2 separate regions of the Homo sapiens genome follow, and region 2 is linked to region 1. The links are contacts of gene promoters, found by promoter capture Hi-C in human tissues and cell types (Jung and others, 2019). All regions are on one chromosome and are shown on one strand. The core of a region is centred on a gene start or on the middle of the fragment in contact, and the rest is flanking DNA. Distances in the headings are between cores, read along the strand shown.

What was found. The method cuts DNA at HindIII sites, captures the fragments that hold promoters and counts their contacts. A contact is called where the count stands out against the background at its distance.
Region 2: the fragment with the promoter of NAALADL1 here is called in contact with the fragment with the promoter of ATG2A in region 1 in 2 of the 25 tissues and cell types used here (aorta and mesendoderm cells).

The regions. Positions count from the first base shown.
Region 1 is chr11:64,915,087-64,919,817 of GRCh38, forward strand. It overlaps ATG2A (autophagy related 2A), which reads right to left and starts at 2,123. Exons shown (of 41, transcript NM_015104.3): 1 at 1,879-2,123. The coding sequence starts at 2,049. It also overlaps a transcript of PPP2R5B not described here. RefSeq lists a silencer at 2,035-2,344 and an enhancer at 2,395-2,524. The HindIII fragment of the contact is 28,686 bases long and covers 1-4,731 here.
Region 2 is chr11:65,056,567-65,060,748 of GRCh38, forward strand. It overlaps NAALADL1 (N-acetylated alpha-linked acidic dipeptidase like 1), which reads right to left and starts at 1,987. Exons shown (of 18, transcript NM_005468.3): 1 at 1,771-1,987; 2 at 1,512-1,684; 3 at 1,309-1,430; 4 at 805-927. The coding sequence starts at 1,955. The HindIII fragment of the contact is 22,908 bases long and covers 1-4,182 here.

The DNA.
Region 1 (4,731 bases), core at 873-3,372:
AAAGGGACAGTGTCCAAGAGAGGGGCTGACCTAATGCCAGATGGGACCCCCCCCCCCCACCACCAACCCCAAACACCTAGTGTAGCTGTGCCTCTCTGTGAGGCACAAGGCTGAGCCCCTGGCTAAAATGTCCATGCTGGAGTTGTACCCCTGCCAACCTGGAAGCTCCTGGAGGGCTGTACCCCACCTGCCTCCCCCGTCACCCCAGGTGCCACCCAGAAAGGGCCTCAGTAAACTGGTTGGATCCAAGAATAAAAAAGCACATGGCAGAGCAGATGGGAGTCCAAATTCCTCACCCAGAGACCCACAGCTCGGGAAACTGAGGCCTAGAGACAGGACTAATCTAGTCACCCAGTATACAACAGGGACTGAGACTGGGATGCGGGCCTCTTTCTTTTCATGCCACTTCAGAGGCCCCAGATACTCAGTTTCTTTGGGGGCCTTCAAGGCGGGGCCTGCAGGCTGAGCTGGGAGGGAGGAGGGGCTGGTTATCAAGAAAGCGCCTGCATTCCACCAGGGCCCTAGAGAAGCCAATTCAATCCCCAACAAGAGGGCAGGGAACAGGAGTAGGGGCGTTTTCTGGAGCTGAAAGTAAAAAGGGGAAGCCTAGGGCTGGGTATGGTGGTTCATGCCTATAATCTCAGCACTTTGGGAGGCTGAGGTGGGAGGATCCCTTCAGGGGTTCAAGGCTAGCCTGGGCAACATAGCGAAATCCTGTCTCTATAAAAATAAAAAAGGGGCAGCCTAGAGACGGCCTTAGAGGCTGAGGCTAAGGTTAGAGGTCAGAGAGGGCTTCCTACACCAGAATTCACAGACAGCAGGCCACTGGGGGGTGCCCCCAGTTCAGGGCCCACGATTATCCTACCCCACATTTGCTCACCAGGGCCTGGCCTACCCCCAAAGCCTAGCTCTTCTGCCCAGATTAGCAGCCCCCTGAGTCCAGCCACAAAACTGAGAAGTCCCTGCCTCCATGCCCACCCCTGCTGCTCTGGACCTGGTGGATCGACCAGGACGCGCCTCTAATTGGTGGCTCCTTCAAAGCTCCCCAGGTCAGCTGAGCTGTGAGTCAGGGCTCCTCACCGTTCCCAGCCTCAAGCCTCTGACCTTACACCTCTTGGCCTCCCTAGCATCTCCCTTGGCCTCCTCCCGGCTTGAAGCCAGATCTCCCCACCTTTCCTCCAGGGCCTCCCTCCAGGCAGGGACACTGAGCCGGGGGGGTCGGTGGGAGATGTAGGTGGGGGCCATCCAGTCCCTCCCTAGACACCCACTTGGCCCATCCCACTCTCCCAAAAGCAGGAAGTAGGCAGCGACCCAGGCACACGAGGTGTTGATCAACACTGGTACTGACGTACTGACGCGGTTGTTGACATACACATCCGGTGGTTTGTTGATCCCACCTACGGGCTCAGGACCGTGGGGTCAAGAGGTCAGGGCACATGATCCACAGGTGTCCTCGCCAGGGCTCCGGACCCCTACCAGCTTCCCCCACCAGCTGCGCAGGCCCAAGTCTGTCACTGCCCTGGCCCAGCTCAGTTCCTACGCTCCCTCCCCAGCCCCTCCTCAGCCCGAGAGCCAACCTCCTTAACTCAGCCCCCAAACTCGACGAGTTTGTCTTGCATTCTCCAGACAGGTGATCTTGCCCTCTCCAGCCTCAGTTTCTCCTCCCGTGGAGACAGAAACCCCTTCCCGCTCAGTTTCTGGCTCTGGTAAGGAACTGAAGAGGCCAGCCGGGGTGCCTCTGACGCCTGGAGAGGGCAAGATTCCCCTGGCCTCTCTACGCCCGGTGCCTGATCCCCCAGCCCGATCCTGCCGCAGGGAGCCTCAGGTCGCTGCGCTCCCACCCTCCGCACCTTCCTGGACTCGGGCCTGGCTCCTCACCCAGATTTCCAGGTGGATGTCTCGCAGGGCAACGCTGCCCTTGTACAGATCGAGGCTGAGCTGGTCCAGGCTGAGGTGCTCTTGGAAGAAGTGACCTAAGTAGTGGTGCAGCAAGTAGCGGCAGACCCGCTCTTTCACACAGTTTGACCATGGCCACAGCCATCGTGACATCTCGGAGACCGCCGGGCCTGGGCCGCCTCCGCTTGCCGCCCGCCGGCGATCCCCGTCCGGCTCCGCTGTTCACTAGAGCCCCCGGCTCGCCCCGCCGCTTCTCTAGGCGCCAGGCCGCGCCTCCGGACGCCCAGCCACGCCCCCTACGCTCACTGTCATTGGCTATTGCAAAGGGCGAGGCCTACTGATTGGCTGCGCGGGGCGGAGCCTTCGGGCGCGAAAAAGGGACTGGGCTCTCTGCATGATATAGGGCTCTCAATCATGATTTACGCTTGCGTAAAGTACTGTGTGGGAGGACCTTTAACCTCCCCTCTACAGGCTCTGGGAAGGCTGTTGCTCCAGGTGCCGGCCCCTCAAAGGAATGCGCATGTGCTGATTCGTCCAACCACTTTAAGTGGTTGGGGAGGATTTAAAGGGACAGTGTCCCATCAAACTTCGTAGAAGCCTTCCCCAGAGGAGTAAACTCAGTGCGCGATCTTAAGCGCGCATCTGTGGAAACAATTAAGTGAGTAAACATTCGCATTTTGCAAAATCTTTTACCATCCTTTATCTCATTGAGCCCTCTTAATAATCGCTCAAGGTAGGGATTATTGCCACCGCTTTACAGGTAAGAAAACAGATTAAGATACGAGAAAGACCCTGCCTCAAAAACAAACAAAAATAAATAAGGGCTCTGAATCCATCACCAAGGAAGGTCTTTTTTCCCCTCCTCACCCCGGAATGCTCAGAGGGAGATTAACTGACCCTCCCTTCTCTCTGCCGTCGGTCAGGCCTTAGGCACCTCTCTGAAATAATAATAGCTTTTCATATCTCTAGTCCTAAAATCAAAGAATGGATTCTGCCTCCTTTAAGCAGGGGGGCATTGTTTTTGTACGGCCTTTGAGCTAAGTATGGTTTTTATGTCTTTTAAATGGTTAGGGGAAAAATCAAAAGAAGAATGAACTTTTCATGGCATGTGAAAAATCATATGAAATTCACATTCCAGTGTTTATACATAACGTTTTAGTGTCACACAGTCTTGCTCATTTGCTTAAGTTCTGCCCCGGGCTGCTTTCTTGCTACAAGAGCAGAATTCAGTACTTGAGACAGAGGCCTGCAAAGCCTAAAATATTTATTTTCTGGCCCTTCACAGAAAAAGTTTGCCAACCGCTGCTCTGTAGGGGGCAGCCACACAAAACCTCTTACATCATGGGCGACTTCAGGAACAGCCATAGGTAATTATGTTTCTTTTCTTTTCTTTTTGAGACAGACTCTCTCTGTCACCTAGGCTGGAGTGCAGTGGCACAATCTTGGCTCACTGCAACCTCTGCCTCCTGGGTTCAAATGATTCTGCTGCCTTGGCCTCCCAGAGTAGCTGGGATTACAGGCATGCACCACCGCACCCAGCTAATTACCGTGTTGGGCAGGCTGGTCTCGAACTCCTGACCTTAGGTGATCAGCCTGCCTTGGCCTCCCAAAGTGTTGGGATTACAGGCACGAGCCACCGTGCCCGGCCTATGTTTCTATTTTATTTATTTTTTTTGAGACAGAGTCTTGCTCTGTTGCCCAGGCTGGAGTGCAGTGGTGCAGTCTCCTCTCACGCAACCTCTGGCTCCTGGGTTCAAGGAATTCCTGAGTAGCTGGGATTACAGGTGTGAGCTACCCCACCTAGCCTGTGTTTCTATTTTAATCTTACTTGGGAGCTGGACTCTTACATTCTAATGCCAAAACTCAGCCTGAAGCAAGGGCAACCGCCCTGGCCCACCGGGCAGGGACCTGTATTCCAGTCCCACCCATGGGTGGTTTCTTCTCCTCTTGTGACCCTCAGTTTTATCCTATGTAACTGGGGTTGGGTTAGTAAGTGGAGATAGTTCATTACCTGGAAGGAGCAGGCTCCATTCAGGGAGGCAGGCTGATAGGACAGCCATTCAGAAAGTGCTTATGGGCCAGGCACGGTGGCTCATGCCTGTAATCCCAGCACTTTGGGAGGCCAAGGCGGGTGGATCATGAGGTCAGGAAATCGAGACCACCCTGGCTAACACAGTGAAACCCCATCTCTACTAAAAAATATTTAAAAAATTAGCAGAGTGTGATGGCGGGCGCCTGTAGTCCCAGCTACTCGGGAGGCTGAGGCAGGAGAATGGTGTGAACCTGGGAGGCGGAGCTTGTGGTGAGCCAAGTTTGTGCCACTGCACTCCAGCCTGGCTGACAGAGCGAGATTCTGTCTCAAAAAAAAAAAAAGAAGAAACTGCTTGTGGAAGGAATCTAGAGCTCTGCCTTCTTCCATGGCAGGCTGGGGGCAGTACTGTGCTCACCAACTGATTATTACATTAATAATAATATACCGGGTTGGGTTGCTCACTCCTGTAATCCCAGCACTTTGGGAGGCTGAGGCAGAAGGATCGCTTGAGCCCAGGAGTTTGAGACCAGCCTGGGCAACATAGCTGAATCCCTGTGTCTACAAAAAAAAAAAAATGTTTCAAAAAATTAGCCGGGCGTGGTGGTGTGTGCCTTTGGTCATTTGAGCCCAGGAGTTTGAAGTTGCAGTGAAGCTATGAATGCACCACTGCACTCCGGCCTCGGTGACAGACGGAGATCTTGTCTAAAAAAAAAATTAATAGTAAATATAATTGCCACCATGAATTAAGCCTGTGTGATGTCCTAGGCCTTGGGCTTGTTACTTTACGTGCACGATCTCATCTG
Region 2 (4,182 bases), core at 737-3,236, 140 kb after region 1:
TTTTTGTTTTTTTGTATTTTAGTAGAGATGGGGTTTCACCGTGTTGCCCAGGCTGGTCTTGAACTCCTGAACTCAGGCAATCCGCCTGCCTTGGCCCCGCAAAGTGCTAGGATTACAAGCGTGAGCCACCACGCCCATGCCCAGCCTTTTTTTTTTTTTTTTTTTTTTTAAATCAGAGTCTCGATGTCTCCCAGGCTGGAGAGTGCAGTGGTGCAATCTCAGCTCACTACCATCTCTGCCTCCCAGGTTCAAGCAGTTCATCTGCCTGAGCCTCCCCAGTAGCTGGGATTACAGGCATGCACCACCATGTGTGGCTAATTTTGTATTTTGAGTAGAGATGGAGTTTCACCATGTTGGCCAGGCTGGCCTTGATCTCCTGACCTCAGGTGATCTGCCCACTTCGGCCTCCCAAAGTGCTGGGATTATAGGCGTGAGCCACAGCGCCCGGCCCCTAGTCAGAATTTTTGATGGAAAAGAAATGGCAGGGAGAGGGCCAACAGGAGGGACTTAAGTTGAATATTCAAAACTATTTCACAGGAGGACTTAGACTTCTGGAATACCAAACCTGAAAATTGTACTCAACCCCTTTATTTCCTACAGCTCAGAGAGGGTCAGGGAGGCATCCGAGGCCACACAGCCCATTGGTGGGACAACCCGAAAACACCTTGCCTTTCCTGCCCCACCCTGGGGCTTGGTTCCCCACTCAACACTGCCTCTTCTCCTTCCCCTTCCCCTCACTTCCTCCAGTCCACTGCCCAGCCCCTTCCTCACCGAGGCCTCCTGCACTGGGGGACTGCCACTCACCTTGGCCCCACGCCCTACACCCCCATATCGAGTCAGGGCAATGGTGCCTTCAAGTTTGATGCCCTGAGTCTGTAGCTCCTTAAAGTCTTCTTCCGCGCCCCGGTTGGCATAGACGAGGAGGCCCTAGTCCCAAGAGGGGGTGATCCTTAGAGCTGGGCCCAGCGAAGTGTGGGTGGGGAAGGGGGGTGGAAGTTTGCATGGCAGGAGGGAGAATTTAGATTCTGTTCCCCCACCTCACCCAGAGCTTGTAAGCTCCCCAAGAACAGTCACCCCTCATTTCCTCCATGTCTGGGTGCCCTGTAACAGACCTGGCCTTGAGCAGAGCCACTAGTGTTTGTTGAATGACTGATGGAGGAAAGGAGCAGCGATGGAGTGTCCCGGTGAGTAAATTCCGGAGGGCGCGCTGTGCCCCAGTTGAGGCACGTTCCCTGGGTCAGGGTGGGGAGAACCCTGGGTGGAACCAAGGGAGCTGGGCCAGAGCAGTAGGGGGGGTTCTGGGCCCACCTGTGGGGTTCCAGAAGGAGCATAGGCAGCATAGGGTTGTACCACATCTGGCCCCCCTTGCTCCCCGGTCACGTTCTCCTCAGTCCGGTGGCAGGAGTGGATGATGCCCCCAGTGGGGCCCACTGTTGGAGGGGTGGCAGTATCATGGCTGGGCCCAGCAGCTCCCCACCCCCGGGCATTCCCAAGACTGGGCAGGACCTCACCGATGTCCACGACGTTGGGCTGCTCCTGGCTAGGGAAGGACAGCAGCACTTCGTACGTGGAGGCCTCGGCCGAGTCCAGGCCTGACTCTGGGTCCTTCCAGCGCTGCAGCAGCAGCTGCACCAGGTCCTCATCCCGAGGGCTGGAGGCCAGGTGTGGCTCCCTGGAGAGTTCTCTGCAGGGTGGGCAGAGGGAGGGGCAGGGCCAGCATCAGGGAGGGGGCCTCTGGCAAACGGAGGAGCAGATGGCCCCACTTCTCACCTGAGGTTCTCCCGGATCCTGTGGGCATCCAGCTGCCCCATGACGGTCTCCAGGATCTCCAGGTCCAGGTCCTGGGGGGCCAGTGAGTTGGCTTTTTTGGGGATGGCAAAGTGGCCGAGGATGATCCCCAGCCCCAAGAGGGCAGCAGCCCCCAGCCCCAGCCCCAACACCTTCGTCCACTGCATCCTGCGGACTCTTGGCCAGCTGGGGTAGGACTGGTCTATAGGTTATTCCCTATAGAGGGGGTGTTGTGCCTGGTTAAACATTACCCCATGGGTGGCACTGCCCTTTGACCCCCAGCTGGCAGGGAGAGTGAGGGAACATCCCGCAGTGAGAGCCAGGAGCCATCCACATCCACCACATCCTGCACCATTTGCCTGGAATGGCTCTCCAAGGGCAGCAAGGTCACCCAGGGACACTGAAGCCGAGAGGGAAGGGGCTCATCCAGGGTGTCCCAGGAAAACAGAGGCCAAGCCAGGGCTGGAACTCAGAGCTCCTGTGTTCACAGCAGGGCCGTGCCCACTGCCCACCCTCACTGCCTCTGCCTCCCTCCAAGGCAGCCGATCTACAGCATACCCAGCCCTACCTGCCTGAGCAGATTTTGAGTTGAGATCCCCCTTCTTGCTGGACGTAAGCTGTGTGACCTTGGGCAATCCACTCAGCTTCTCTACACCTGTTTTCTTTTTTTTTTTTCTAGACTGTGTCTTCCACTGACACCCAGGCTGGAGTCCAGTGGTGTGATCTCGGCTCACTGCAACCTCCACCTCCCGGGCTCAAGTGATTCTCCTGCATCGGCCTCCCGAGTAGCTGGGATTACGGGTGTGCACCACCATGTCCAGCTAATTTTTGTATTTTTAGTAGAGATGGGGTTTCACCATGTTGGCCAGGCTGGTCTCAAACTCCTGATCTCAGGTGATCACCCGCCTCAGCCTCCCAAAGTGCTGGGATGACAGGAGTGAGCCACCGTGCCGGCTATGGTGTCATTTTCATTAAACAATATGGCATCTGTAGAAATAGCTAGTGCAGTGTCTGACATGTAGTGGGAGCTCATCAATTTTAACTACTCATCCCTCATCTGACTCTGGAAAATGTAAGGCCTAGAGCTAAAGGAAGAAGGAGGACCCAGAAGAACTCTCTGTGTCTATCCTGAAGGGAGCCCAGCGATACGAGGAATGGGAGTCCTGGGAAGGGAGGCTGTCCCAGAGGAGGCAGCAGGGGAAGCCCATGCCTCCCTGGCGAGGTGACTTCCTCTTCTATCCCCTGGCTCTGCCTGGACTCCGTCATCCACCCTCCTATTTATCCATCCACCCATCCCTCCATTCACTTATTCATTCCTTCCTTTATACATGCAAGCACTGTTCATTCTGTGCTATACTAGAGCCATGCAAGGCTGTGGGGAAGCAAAATCCAGCAGGCGAGGCAGACAGGCTTTAGGTTCAGCCATGTGGTAAGTGCCCTGTAGAGGGAGGATCACCATGCTCCCAGTGAAAGAGTGAGGAGTTCTGACTAGGAGGGAACATCTGAGGGGGTCCTCCAAGGCTGAAAAGGTGTTCCAGCATTTGCAAGGGCTGAGAGGGAAGTGAGACCCCAAGTATGCCATACACATACTGAGCCTCTTCCAGACCTCACGGAGAGCCAGGAGGGGCTGGGGGGGTCCCTAGGGACTTGAGCTGGGACTTCTCCCACCCTCCCATGGCCTATCCTGCCTTGACTCTGCCTCGCAGGTTGCAGCCCATGGATGGGCTCAAAGATGCCTGCAGAGCTTGGGGGCTGGATCAGGGCAGAGCGTGTGTGTGTGTGTGTGTGTGTGTGCACGTGCATGTGTGTGTGTGTGATTTCACAGACCCCTCTCAGAGCAGCCTCCTTCCTGCTCACAACCCCATTTTGCTGGCACCACCATCTCTTGTGCTGCTGGTGAGGAGGTTCAGCATGGGAGGACTAGGGGTGGCTGGGAAGGGATGTCATGTGATCAGTGACTTCAGGGAGGTGCACCAGGAAGCCACAGTTCTTGGCAACGTGATTATCGACGCCCAGAATATGACCTTGGATCTTATCAGAAGCCCATCGGTGCAGGGAGCATACACCTTCCTTATGAGGACACAGGACAGTCACCACCAGGTGGGGAGTGGGATGCCAAGGTCAGCTGATAAGTTGAGGGACTGAGGCAGCAACCCCATGGTCCTACCCCACCCACTCCTGGAAGGATTTAACCCCTCAATCATGTGAAGTCACAAACAGGACGCCTGGACAAAAGTGTGTGACATCTGAGTGATAACACCTGGGACTGTGGTTTGTGTTGGAGAGTGTGTAAACAGCTGTGTGTGTGACACCCAAGAGATCCACTCAGGCTGTTGGAATCCACTGGTGTCTACATGGCTGTAGGCACCAGACGTTAACTTAGTCAATTTTCTT